Linked DNA regions of Homo sapiens: regions 1 and 2 are each linked to region 3. The links are contacts of gene promoters, found by promoter capture Hi-C in blood cells and fetal thymus (Javierre and others, 2016). All regions are on one chromosome and are shown on one strand. The core of a region is centred on a gene start or on the middle of the fragment in contact, and the rest is flanking DNA. Distances in the headings are between cores, read along the strand shown. Region 1 overlaps LINC00189 (long intergenic non-protein coding RNA 189). Region 2 overlaps LINC00189 (long intergenic non-protein coding RNA 189). Region 3 holds the start of BACH1-IT2 (BACH1 intronic transcript 2).

Region 1 (4,647 bases), core at 875-3,374, 160 kb after region 3:
AGGAAACTCTAGTCATTTTTAAAAAGCCACTTAGGATTTACTGATAAATAATTCTACTTGCAAAGAATAGAAACATCGTTTATTAAATCTGGACAATATTTACTATATAATAGGGTATGAAATAAAATTTTTCCGTTATCTTATTTTTGGCTGAGCCCCCAAAACCAATTCAATAGATGTCAAATAACCTCCTAGAAGGAATTCTTTATAGGCTTGTCTATGTGGTGTGAACTGAAGAGAGCAAAGAAGGTGTACATTTGGTGCCTGAGAGATACCACATAAGAATGTCTTTTTACCCCCAACAAGAACACTATCGGGAATTACTTTTTCTTGGCAGTGAGTAGAAAGTGAAGCCCAAAGGTCTAGGACAAAAGACACACAAATGTTGTCAGGATTTACAAGGCATGGGAGATCCAGAACATGGTAAACGGCATTGGAAGGTTGAAATGGAGTATACGGTATAGAAGAAGGGTCAGGGGACAAATAGGAAGTGGAAAGACTAAGGGCTTGTTTTCCCATACACAGGTGTGTCTAAGTGTCTGTATGTGTGTCTCTGTGTGTGTCTATGTGTGTCTGTGTGTCTGTATGTGTCTATGTGTGTATCTGTGTGTATGTGTCTACGTGTGTGCCTGATGTGTCTGTGTCTGTATGTCTGTGTGCATGTGTGTGTGCCTGTGTCTGTGTATATGTCTGTGTGTCTGTATGTCTGTGTATATGTCTGTGTGTCTGTGTGTGCATGTGTGTCTGTATGTGTGTCTCCATATGTGTCTGTGTGTCTGTGTGTGTCTGTGTGTGTCTGTGTGTGTCTGTGTGTGCCTGTGTATATGTGTGTGTCTGTATGTGCCTGTGTCTGTATGTATCTGCGTGTGTGTCTGTGTGTCTGCAGTGTCTGTACTTGTGTCTGTGTGTCTGTGTGTGTGTCTATGTGTGTCTGTGTGTGTCTGTATATATGTCTGTATGTGTTTGTAGTGTCTGTATTTGTGTCTGTGTGTCTGTGTGTGTCTGTCTGTGTCTGCATGTGTGTCTGTGTGTCTGCAGTGTCTGTACTTGTGTCTGTGTGTGTGTCTGTGTGTGTGTCTGTATGTTATATGTCTGTATGTGTGTTTGTATTGTCTGTATTTGTGTCTGTGTGTGTGTCTGTGTGTGTGTGTGTGTGTCTGTGTCTGTATGTGTGTCTGTGTATGTGTCTGTGTGTATATGTCTGTGTATGTGTCTGTGTGTGTGTCTGTGTCTGTATGTCTGTGTCTGTGTATGTGTCTGTATGTGTCTGTGTGTGTCTATGTGTTTGTGTGTTTGTGTGTGTGTGTGTGTGTGTGAGAGCATGTATCTATGCCTCCATGTGTGGCAGCAGCAAGGAATGCAGAGGGTTGCAGGGGCAAAGCAGGTGGGATATTGCCAAAAAGAGGAAATCAACTATTTTGCATGAGTGTGTAAGAGTTCAACTTTTCCACATTTCAATGTCTCTTTATCCATTTTCCAAAATCATCTTAATTCTATAATTGAAAGGTAAATATATTTAAATCCCATGAAGGTACTTCCACATATTAGTGTACATCGTGGGCTATTCTGAGGTGATTCATGCTTCAGAGAAGATGAATATTGGTATTTTTTTGCATCTTAGTATGGAGGGTTAGGAAAAATATTTTAAATGTATTTATAGTCCTTGTTCTTTCTAAATCGTGTACCTCACAATTTTGAGATTTTTCCAACCAGAGACAATTAATTAGTTCAGTGGAATTATCATGGTGCACCAGTTTCAAAACTTAAAGAGAGTTTTAGAATATCTGTGTATGATTTGCTAGGAGGTGACTTGAACCTCATCTACTTCACCTTCCTTCAGTTTCCATTCAGGAGGAGTACAAAGATTAATAGGGATTTCTTTGTATGTTTGTCCCACCTCCCCCTGGGAGAGTAGCTGGAGCGCTTCTCTCCCATTCTCATATTGCCTTAGTTAGTTCAGACTGCCATAACAAAAATGTCATAGGCTGAGTGGCTTAGGCAACAGAAATTTATTTCTCACAGTTTTGGAGGCTGGAAGTGAAGACCCAGGTGCAGGCTGAATCAGTTCTTGGTATGTCCTCACATGGTGGAGAGAGAGGAAGCAAGCGCTCTCCTGTCTCTTAAAAGGGCACCAGTCCCATCATGAGGGCTCCACCTAATTACCTCCTGAAGTCTCCACCTCCTCATACCATCATCTTAGGGATTACAGTTTCAGCATATGAATTTAGGCGGGGCGGGGGACACACGTTCAGTCCATAGCGCATGCCAAATGAGAGTCTTCAGAATAACTGCTTATAGAGACTGGGGTGTCTGGCAGGAAGGGAGTAAGACAGCTTACCACTACCACACCCTTCCCATCGTCCCCCACCCCTAGCCAGCTGGAGCCAGCTAAATTGGGGCAGGTTCTGGGCCCCAGCAACAGCACGGGCCCTGAGAGGAACTGGAGTTTCCTGGACTTACAGGGACACAGGACAGGTGTCTGATTCTCATCTGACAAAGTCTAATGAGAGGCCAGCTAGAGCTCCCTTCTAAGCAAAGTGAAGAGAAGCGGCCTACACCTTCATACCCTGTCTGAGGCCAGGTGCTGAGTGCTCTATGGGTTAAATGGAGACTATGGAAGGTAACCGTCTTGGGAACACTTGAAAGGGCCATATAGAAGGCATCTGCCTGGCAGGGCAAAGCAACCCCTAAAGGAGAGGCTATGGGATCTGATCAGATGAGGTTGCTAAGCAAGGCTCATAAGCAGTCATCTGATCACATGGCTTACTTCACAACCAAGTCTTTCATACTCAAAGCCAGAGAACAAGGTAGTGAGAGGACCCTTTGGGCATTTTCAGAAACTACTTCATGAGAGAAAGTGTGGAGGGTGCATTTGGGCATCTGCCTCCCAGAGGGCTGGAAACAGCCAGTTGTAACAGTGCCAGCCAACTAAGACTGTGCTATGCCTCTAGTCTTCCCACTCTCCTGCATTCTACCCTAGAGGCGTGAGGAACCGTGGATGAGAGAAAAGGTGGTCAGGAGGACCAGAGAAGCTGACCGCAACACCCCTTCCCCACTGTAGGCTTCCAGGACCCAGGCACCTGAGCTGTGGGGGGATGGGAGAAGGTTTAAATTGGACAAGTGATTGAAAGTTTGATGTTACCCTAGGTTGGACTTTTTGTTTCCAATTTTTTAAATTGTGTTAAAATACATATAACTAAAATTTACTGTCTTAGTCATTTTTAAGTATATGTTCAGTGGTATTAAATACATTTATAATGTTGTACAACCATTATCACCATCGATCTCCATAACTCTTCAGTAAAACTAAAATTCTGTACACATAAACCACTAACTCTCCACTTTCCTCTCCCCCTTGCCCTTGGGAAACACCATTCTACTGTCTCTATCAATTTGCCTACCCTAAGTGCCTCATATAAGTAGAATCAAACAATATTTGTCTTTTTATGACTGGTTTATTTCATTTAACATAATATCCTCAAGTTCATCCATGTTGTAGCATATTTCAGAATTTCTTTCCTTTTTAAGGCTGAGTAATATTCCTTGTATGTATTTACCACATTTTGCCTGTCTAGCCATCAATCAATAGATAATTGTGTTGCTTCTACATATTAGCTATTGTGAATATAATGCTGCTATAATCATGGGTGCACCACTTTCATTTCTTTGGGTATATACTCAGAAGCATAATTACTGGATCATATGGTAATTCTATTTTTTAATTTTTCGAGGATCCACCACCATACCATTTTCCACAACAGTGTACCATTTTGCATTCCTACCAATAGTGTACAAGCGTTCCAATTTCTCTACATCCTCACCAACACTTGTGATTTTCTGTGTTGTTTTAAATAGTAGCCATCCCAATGAGTGTCAAGCGGGATCTCCTTTTAGTTTTGATTTGTATCTCTCCAGTGACTGTTAATGTTGAACATCTTTTCACATGCTTATTGATCATTTATACACCTTCTTTGAAGAAATGCCTATTCAAGTTCTTTGCCCATTTGAATCAGGTCATTTGTTGTTGTTCAGTTTTAGGAGTTCTCTATATATTCTGGATACTAATCAACCCCTTCTGTGAGTTGCAAATGTTTTCTCCCATTCTGTGGGTTGTCTTTTTAGCCAGCTGATATTTTCTTTGATGTCCAATTTTAAAATTTTTCATGAAGCCCAATTTGTTTATTTCTTCTTTTATGGCCTTTGCCTTTGGTATAACAGCCACCAAAAGATTGTTTTCAAATCCAATGTTGTGAAGCTTTTGCCCTGTGTTTTTTCTAAGATTTATATAATTTTAGGTTTTACAAATGGATCTTTGATATACCTTGAGTTAATTTTTATATATGATGTTAGGTAAAGATCCAACTTCATTATTTTACATGTGAATATTGTTTTCCCATGGGCTGGACTTTTTAATACCTGAAAATGGGATCTTTAAGACAAATTTATCCATAGACAGGAAAGAGAAATCTGAGAGGGGGTTTGAAAGAACAAGGCTGACTTCTACTTGGCCTCCTATGTCCAGCCCATTCAAAGAATTGGTTCTATAACCAAAGCACAATTATCAGGTAATGAAACTGGTTTCCTGTGTGGTATATAAACCAACCCTGAAGGAAATACTCCAAGAAAAAAACAGTTTTAAGAAACTCC
Region 2 (4,506 bases), core at 87-2,586, 140 kb after region 3:
AAATGGGCCCGTCTGAGTTTCATTTCCCTCCCGCTGAGAGGTAATGATGAAACACCATACAAGTACTGCTTTGAAAAGCACCTGGATTCCCCAGGTTCTTTTAGATTACCTCATGGGAAATAAAATAGAAACAAATTTAAAACTATAACTAGGTTGGTTTTTTGTTTGTTTGTTTACCAGTTAAGACCTTAGGTAGGTACATGCTATGGGCTGAATTGTCTTCCTGCAACCTCCGCCAAATGTATATGTTGAACTCCAAACCTCTAGTACCTCAGAATGTTCCTGTTTTGGGACATGATAAAAGAAAAACTTCAGTCGGTTTAAATTTAAAGGAGTTTAATTGAGCAATGAACGTTTCACAAATCAGACAGCCCCCAGAATCACAGCAGATTCACAAAGACTCCAGCGCAGCCATGTGGTGGAAGATTTATAGACCAAAAAAAAAAAGAGAAATGACGTTCAGAAATTGGAAGTGAGGTACAGAACGGCTGGATTGGTTAGAGGTTGGCGTTTGCCTTATTTGAACACAGTTTGAGCACTAAGCAGTGTATGAATGGTTGAAATATGGCTGCTGGGATTGGCTAGGATTTAGCTATTGTTACAGGTGCATACTACTAAGTTAGGTTTTCAATTTTATCTGCCTATTAAGTTAGGTTACGGTTCATCCGCAAGGACTCAAATATAGAAGTAGGGAGTCCTTCTCAGGCTATAGTTTGCTTTAACAGACATAAAGGCTTTAAAGAGGTAATTAAGGTAAAATGAGGTTATTGGCATGGGTCCTAATGTAATCTGACTGGTGTCCTTATAAGATTAGGACACAGACACACAGAAGGAAGACAATCTGAAGTCACAGATCTACAAGCCAGGGAGAGGGGCCTCAGAAGTCAACCTGCTGACACATTGATCTTAGATTCACAGCTTCCAGAACTGTGAGAAAACAAATTTTTGTTTTCTGAGTCACCTAGCGTCCTTCTGGCACTTTTTTATGGCAGCCCTAGTGAACTAATATAGTATATTAACTTCTCCACAATTTTAGTGCATATTTAAAAATCCACCCTTAGGGAGTTGCTTACTAATCTGTCTCTCACTTTTAATGCTTTGTTGACGTCCACATTGCATCAGAGCCATGTCAGAATAACTGAAATAATAGCACAGCCAGTCTGGAGGTTTGGGCTGTCAGATTCGTAACCCTTGATCCAACTCTGTGGACATCATCGACATGTACAGTTTGTTACGATCTCCGCTTTACAGATATGAAAAATGGGGCTTGAAGAGGCTACAATACTTGTTCGAGTTCGGCAACTGGAGAAGGGAAGGGCTAGGATTTGAACCTAGATGGCTTGAGTCAGAGGGTGTGCTCTTAACAATTATGGGACACTGTCTCCCTAAGCAGGGAGGAGAGGAACTGTGATATTGAAACTGCCTTTGCAAAATTATGACTGAGACAGTGAAAGAGATCTGACCTAACCAACTCCATCTTCCTTCTAACCTTTAAGCTGTCCTTGTCCCTTCCTGGGCATAGACCGAGCTAACTTTGGGAGGAATTTATAGTTTACAACAAAGACCATAACAGCCCTTTCCCAAAACAAGCCTCCTTCTTGCCTGGGGACTAGACTGCCTTTATAGGACCAATTAGCCACAAGATTTGAAATTATGTTTTAGGACTTACGCAGCTGGAGGCTACAGGATTCTGACCCTCCCTAAACTGCTCATAAGATTAGTGCTTGAAATATTTTGCAGATATTTTGATGGATCAGCTGGCACCACCCAGACTGATAAACTGGCTCACCTGATCTTGTGGCCCCCACCCAGGAATTGACTCAGCACAAGAGGACAGCTTCAACTTGCCATGATTTCATCTCTGACCCAACCAAGCAGCACTCTCAATTCACTGGTCTTCCCCCACCCACCAAGTTATCCTTAAACACCCTGGGCCAGGCCCAGTGGCTCACGCCTGTAATCCAAGCACTTTGGGAGGCTGAGACAGGCAGATCACAAGGTCAAGAGATCGAGACCATCCTGGATAACATGTGAAACCCCGTCTCTACTAGAAATACAAAAATTAGCTGGGCATGGTGGCAGGCACCTGTGGTCCCAGCTACTCGAGAGGCTGAGGCAGGAGAATCACTTGAACCTGGGAGGCAGAGGTTGCAGTGAGCTGAGATCGCGCCACTGCACTCCAGCCTGGCAACAGAATGAGACTCCATCTCAAAAAAAAAAAAAAAGACCTGTGATCCCCAAATGCTCAGGAAGACTGATTTGAGTAATAATGAAACTCTGGTCCCCCACACAGCCGGCTCCGTGTAAATTATTCTTTCTCTATTGCAATTCCCCTGTCTTGATAGATTCTGTCTAGGCAGCAGGCAAGGTGAACCCACTGGGTGGTTACAATATATCTGAGCTTTAGTGACTGAGAGAAAGGTTGAATCACTGGCAGAAACAGAGAAGATCCCAAAGTCTTCTTGTGAAGAGAAACGTGATGAGGTGGATGTTAGACCTGTTAATTTCAATGGAGAGCCTTCACACAGAGCTGGGAGATTCATGGCAGGGCCATGGGTGAAGAACTGGGGCTTCTCCATTTAAGGCATGGAAGCAGAGGAGACCTCTAAGCAGAAAATTGCAAAGAAGAGAATTACAAATCCTTCCTTTGGGTGTGGCCACAGTTAAGATGAGAATGAGGGAGCGGCAGCTGTGAAGAAGCCAGAGAGGCCGAGCGTAACCAGAAAACACAGAGTCCTGGGATTCCAGGGTAGAATATGTCAGGGATGTGGTAGTAAACACTCAGAACAGCAAACTGCTGACTAGTGCTGTCAGCAAACTGAAATAAGCACTGCATTGAGGGCAGGCAATTGGTTTAACTCCAACATACTCAACTTTTCATTATTGAGATATTCTGGGCACCATCTAATAAAAACTAGCATTTTCCAAAAAACTTCTTAATTCTCAGTCCTCACTTACATATTGAAAAAAATTGTAAAATACACAGAAACAGAAACATATGATTGGCTTTATAAATAATCATAATGATCTGAATCAGCAAATACTGTAAATACAGCAAATACTGTAAAATCACTTCTTAAATTCAGAAAATATTCAAGCATTTTAAAAACCAACAGAGATAGCTACATGTTGACAAAATAATGGATATTAGTAACTGTCTAGTGATCTCTAACAAACTGTAAAAAACAAAACTGTAATATAGTAAGAAAGAATTAGAAACCCCATTGTTAGGCTTAATCTGTGAAAAGATATTTTAGTAGTTTTGTTGATAATGAAAAAAGTGCATATAGCCCAGATATTTATTATTTTTTAAAAAAATTAGACTAGCTCTTACTACCCAATGTAGTCTTTGAGTTGGAAAGACAATCCAAGCTAAATCACTACACCAAATATATAGATAGAAATTTTCCCTACAACGTGCCTAATAGATGGTCATGCAATAGTCCTGATATGGTTTGGCTCTGTGCTCCCGTCCCCAAATCTCATCTGAAATTATAATCCCTACATGTCAGGGGAGGAACCTGGTGAGAAGTGTTTGGATCATGGGGGCGGGTTTCCCTCTGCTATTTTCATGACAGTGAGTTCTCACGAGATCTGATGGTTTAAAGTGTGGCACTTCCCACCTTGTTCTCTCTCTCTCCTGCTGCCTTGTGAAGGAGGTGCTTGCTTCTCCTTTACCTTCTGCCATGATTATAAGTTTCCTGAGGCCTCCCCAGCTATGTGGAACTGTAAGTCAATTAAAACTCCTTTCTTTATAAATTACCCAGTCTCGGGTAGCTCTTTATAGCTGTGTGACAACAAACTAATACAAGTCCATATCATTGTCTTTTATTAATTATAGAAAGCTCTTCTTAATACTGAGTTTAAACCTGCCTCCCTATAACATCAATTAGAATACTTCCCTTGGGACAGAATAAGACAATCTATAATAAAATAGCCGGCCCCCTTTTTTTTTTTTTTTTTTTTTTTTTTTTTTTTTTTTTGAGACGGAGTCTCGCTCTGTCGCCCAGGTCGGACTGCGGACTGCAGTGGCGCAATCTCGGCTCACTGCAAGCTCCGCTTCCCGGGTTCACGCCATTCTCCTGCCTCAGCCTCCCGAGTAGCTGGGACTACAGGTGCCCGCCACCGCGCCCGGCTAATTTTTTGTATTTTTAGTAGAGACGGGGTTTCACCTTGTTAGCCAGGATGGTCTCGATCTCCTGACCTCATGATCCACCCGCCTCGGCCTCCCAAAGTGCTGGGATTACAGGCGTGAGCCACCGCGCCCGGCCTAATAGCCGGTCTCTTAATAAATTAACCTTCTCTTCTGTACACGCCTAATTCTTCCATTGGACTTCCTAGTATGTGGTTTTTAGACCCTCCTTGCTGATCTATCATTATTTGTGTGCACTCCAGGTTAACAACTGACCATTAAAGTGTAACAGACAAATTTTAATTTAATACTCCTGCAAAGACCTGATCATTATATTTGTTACTGAACAAATAATAATTAAGAATCTACCAAGC
Region 3 (4,240 bases), core at 980-3,479:
ACATGAGAAAACTCCCCACCCCAGTAGATTCACTAGAGACGCAGCTCTCAACTCCTTGTACCAAGACCCATAGGAATGATACACTTTACATCATACCCCTATAAACATGTACATGTGTAATTGATTAAAGTTTCATAAAGTAATATTTACTCACTATGTGCAATGCACATTGATATTTCATATTCTGTTCTGTTTTTTAAATGCTGGCCACAACCCCACACAAATTGATTTCTAGACCTTAATAGTCTCTAATCAGCAGTGTAAACAACTCTCATTAGAGGGAGAGAACCCTTAAGAGGAAGGGGAAACCTTGGGTTTCACAGGCATGAACAGCAGTGTTTCTTCTCTCTGAGATATGCCTCCCATACCCACAGCCCCTTTTTTTTCATCATACTGGGATCCTATATTCCTGATTGCCTACTTTCCAGGTGAGTTATCTCCTCTGGAGTTCCCACCTCTCTACTGGATCTCTTATGTAACCACCTGATATGGTTTGGCTGTGTCCCCACCCAAATCTCATCTTGAATTGTAGCTCCCATAATTCCCATGTGTTGTGGGAGGGACCCGGTGAAAGAAAATTGAATCGGTTTCCCCCATACTGTTCTCAAGGTAGTGAATAAGTCTCACAAGATCTGACAGTTTCGTAAGGGGTTTCCCCCTTTCCTTGGCTCTCATTCTCTCTTGCCTGCTGCCATGTAAGATGTGCCTTTCACCTTCTGCCATGATTGTGAAGCCTCCCCAGCCTCATGGAACTGTGAGTCCATTAAACCTCTTCTTTCTTTATAAATTACCCACTCTCAGGTATGTTTTTATCAGCAGTTTGAAAACAGACTAATACACTATCCTCAATGCCTTTCTAATTCTACCCATTGTACATGGATTGGACTCCTCAATGCCAACTCCATTCATGAAATACTTTCCAAGCCCTTTCATACCCAGCATGTACAAATTGTCCCCAGCACCTTCTTAACAAGTATGTCTGAATAACAGAAAACTACAATAATAATGCATGTCAGAATTATATGATGTAAAGATGTGTCTGTCACTGCTACCAGCTCTATCTATACCTCTTTCTCTGTAATCCTTATAACCATCTGACACATTAGGTCACATAGCTATTTAGCGGTGGACTTGAGCTTCGAATCCAGGTGTTCTTGGGAAACTTGCAGATCATAGAGAAGCATGAACACAAAGAATAAGTGTGGCCTTCCAGTGGTGGGGGCAGGGTGTCATGAGACACAGAGCAGTGGTAGGTCTTATGCAGAGCCTCTTTAGGGTTTTACACCACTGGTAGAAGAATCTGTCTCTAGACCGAAGAGTTCAAACCGAGAGACTTCTTGCTTTCTCACAAAGACAGGCTTCTGGCCATTTAGCTGCTGGGCTTTTCATCAGCCTTGAGGAATGAGAGACCTTTGTGGAGCTCTTGTTTCTAGGCGTGAGAGCAGGGGAGAGGCTGAAAAGCATCTGACATTCCTGGCGTCCCATTCTCTAGACAAGAGGGGACACTCATAAGGGCCTAAATACCTGTCCAAAGGCTTCAGTCACAATCCCTACTCTGTAAGGAAAATCTTGGCATCATTTCATCCCATACAACTAAGAAGAAAGATATATATCATGATAGCATATGGATGTGTTAACCATCTTCCCCCATTTTCACGTTTTAAGAATTTTAGGGCCGTGCATGGTGGCTCACGCCTGTAATCCCAGCACTTTGGGAGGCTAAGGCTGGCAGATCACAAGGTCAGGAGATCGAAACCATCCTGGCCAACATGGTGAAACCCCCGTCTCTACTAAAATACAAAAAATGAGCCAGGCGAGGTGGTGTGCGCTTGTAGTCCCAGCTACTCGGGAGGCTGAGACAAGGGAATTGCTTGAACCCAGGAGGCAAAGGTTGCAGTGAGCCAAGATCATGCCACTGCACTCCAGCCTGGCGACAGAGCAAGACTCTGTCTCCAAAAAAAAAAAAAAAAATTTTAGGTCTGGGGTGAGTTGGAGTATTGCTGAGGAGAACCTTTCTCAAGGGCAGGGCTCTCGGAGATCATGTTCTCATGGGTCCCCGGGACCGGTCCTCAGGCTCGCTAGTTTAAGGTGAGTGGAGTGGTCTCTAGGAGCAGAGCATGATAACAACGCTAGGTCACTCATTTACAACGGACTGTAATAAACTACCTTTTTCCTTCCACCAGGGGGCACCATTCACATAGACTTCAACAGCAGTGGCATCAACAGGCCTACAAAGTGGTGGTGGTAAAAAACACACTTGAGACCATCATATGTATCTGAAATCAGATACGATACCTGAAAAACATAAATCAAATTAATGCTCATATGGTTGCTTGCTGTCCAAGGAATTCAAAGCAAAGGTGGAAACTGACCCTTACATCACTTCTTCCTTCTAGATGAATAGCATCAGCTACATTTTCTTTCCCATTATGTAATGTTTCTATTCTGACCACCCACCTGTGATGGACATAGTCTTTTTAGATGTGTTAGTTTTAATATTAGTCAAGACTTAGTCTCAACCGTTCTCTATTAAGTGACTTTGCAGATATCTGATGTCATCTCCATTAATGCAGATTTTCATGTCAGATTCAGCTCTGAGTTCACCTTAATGCGGTGGTGGTTCCCATAGTGTAGTGCCCAGGCCCCCGCATCAACATCACTTGGGAACTTGTTAGAAAGGCAAGTTCCTGGTTCCCAACTCAGACCTACCTACCAAGTCAGAAATCTAAGTGTGGGGCCTGCAATCTGTGTTTTTACAAGCCTAACAGGGGATACTAATGCATGCTAAAGTTTGAGAACCACTGACTTAATATACAGTTTCCAACCCGGATGACACTAGAAACAACTACGGGACTTTACAAAAATATGGGTGTCCTGGCTTCCCCCAGAGCCACTAGGGTAGTGGAAACAAATGTCACTATCAAATGGATCTGGGTTTGAATTCTGGTTTTGTCACTCACCAGCTATGTGCCTTGTGGAGGCTCCATCTTCTCATCTGTAAAGTAAAAGTCATCGGACCTGCCTTGTAGGAAGGTGTAGGAGGGGAAGGTTCAGCAAATGCCTCATAGAGAGATTGACTCATAGTACATCTTCTTCCTTGGCCTCCACCGCAACTAGAATCTTATTCACCCGGCCTGTGAGGGTACAGTTCTCACCTTGCCCCAGAATCACCAGGTGAGAATGATTTGCTAGACCCGCTTTCTGAAGTTTCACAAATGGACAAACATTTTCACAGCTGTTACTGGGATTTTGCCATAAATCAGCAGGAACACACCCGAGATCTGACAAAGCTATTTCAAACTCTAGATCAATGAGGAGGGAAGTTGCTATGAAGCCGGGTTTGCCAACTGAGAGCATTGTAATTGTTCGAGTTGCTCTTGGGATCTAGCTCAGATTCCTGCTGACACCAGAGAAGTGAAGAATGAAAATAGTTGCCTAGAAAATCAGAAGCAGCTCCCCAAGTTACCTGCCACATACAGGTTTGTTTTTCCTTAATTATCTAGGTAATTGCTTTGCTTCCTCTACCTGCCTTTACCAAGAGATGCCTGGCCAGAAGAGCGAGGAATTAAAGTACCTGTGGAGGCTGCCCACCGAGTGAAGCTGCAGGCTGCCCATCCCATCGCAGTAGCTCCTTAGTTGTCAGTAGGTTGTTTCTATGAATGCCCCCTCCATCAGAAACCAATGAGGTTTTTCCAATTAATCTAAATCCCTGCTCTTGTGGAACTGGTGCGGAGACAGTGGTTAAATGCTAAATTGTCAGCCCAAAGTCAAATCCTTTTATTTAAAAACATAATATGCAGAATGGCTTCCTAAAACAAAAATTGGGAAAATTGTTAACATAGAGACTTCCAGGTTTTGCCAAGGGTACAACTGTTTTCTTAAACACAGTTTTTAACAATTACGTACAAATCAAACCAAAGTTCATCCAACCCACTCTCTGAATTAGTCTCAGTACAATGCGCATAGACAGCTATCACTAGAGTTAGTGAATATTATGGGAAAAATTAGAGGCAAAAGTTGAGACTGGAGCCGGTGAGAGTTAACAAAAACACTATTTATATAGAGAAAAATACATTTTAGAGAAGTATAAACATACTGCTTGGCATCAACATAAAAGCCCAAGTGCAAGTCAAAGGTAACCCAAAAGGCTCATAGGTCCTCAGACTACAGAAACCCCCCTACTGATGGCAACAGAAGGTCTGGCCTTCCACATGCTACTTCCTTAGTGTTTGTGGGGGAA

What was found. The method cuts DNA at HindIII sites, captures the fragments that hold promoters and counts their contacts. A CHiCAGO score of 5 or more calls a contact.
Region 1: a contact is called between a fragment that was not itself captured here and the fragment with the promoter of BACH1-IT2 in region 3, in 1 of 17 cell types (naive B cells). The highest score is 5.5, in naive B cells.
Region 2: a fragment that was not itself captured here is called in contact with the fragment with the promoter of BACH1-IT2 in region 3 in 1 of 17 cell types (M2 macrophages); the score reaches 5.0 in M2 macrophages.

The regions. Positions count from the first base shown.
Region 1 is chr21:29,210,280-29,214,926 of GRCh38, reverse strand. All of the region lies in intron 1 of LINC00189 (long intergenic non-protein coding RNA 189), which reads right to left. Among named protein-coding and RNA genes, the nearest start is that of LINC00189, 19 kb to the right of the region's middle. The HindIII fragment of the contact is 4,266 bases long and covers 1-4,257 here.
Region 2 is chr21:29,229,271-29,233,776 of GRCh38, reverse strand. The region is part of intron 1 of LINC00189 (long intergenic non-protein coding RNA 189); the gene reads right to left. Among named protein-coding and RNA genes, the nearest start is that of LINC00189, 38 kb to the right of the region's middle. RefSeq lists an enhancer at 71-250. The HindIII fragment of the contact is 9,137 bases long and covers 1-4,506 here.
Region 3 is chr21:29,370,490-29,374,729 of GRCh38, reverse strand. BACH1-IT2 (BACH1 intronic transcript 2) reads right to left here and starts at 2,229. Exons shown (of 2, transcript NR_046564.2): 1 at 2,167-2,229; 2 at 750-1,488. The HindIII fragment of the contact is 7,280 bases long and covers 1-4,240 here.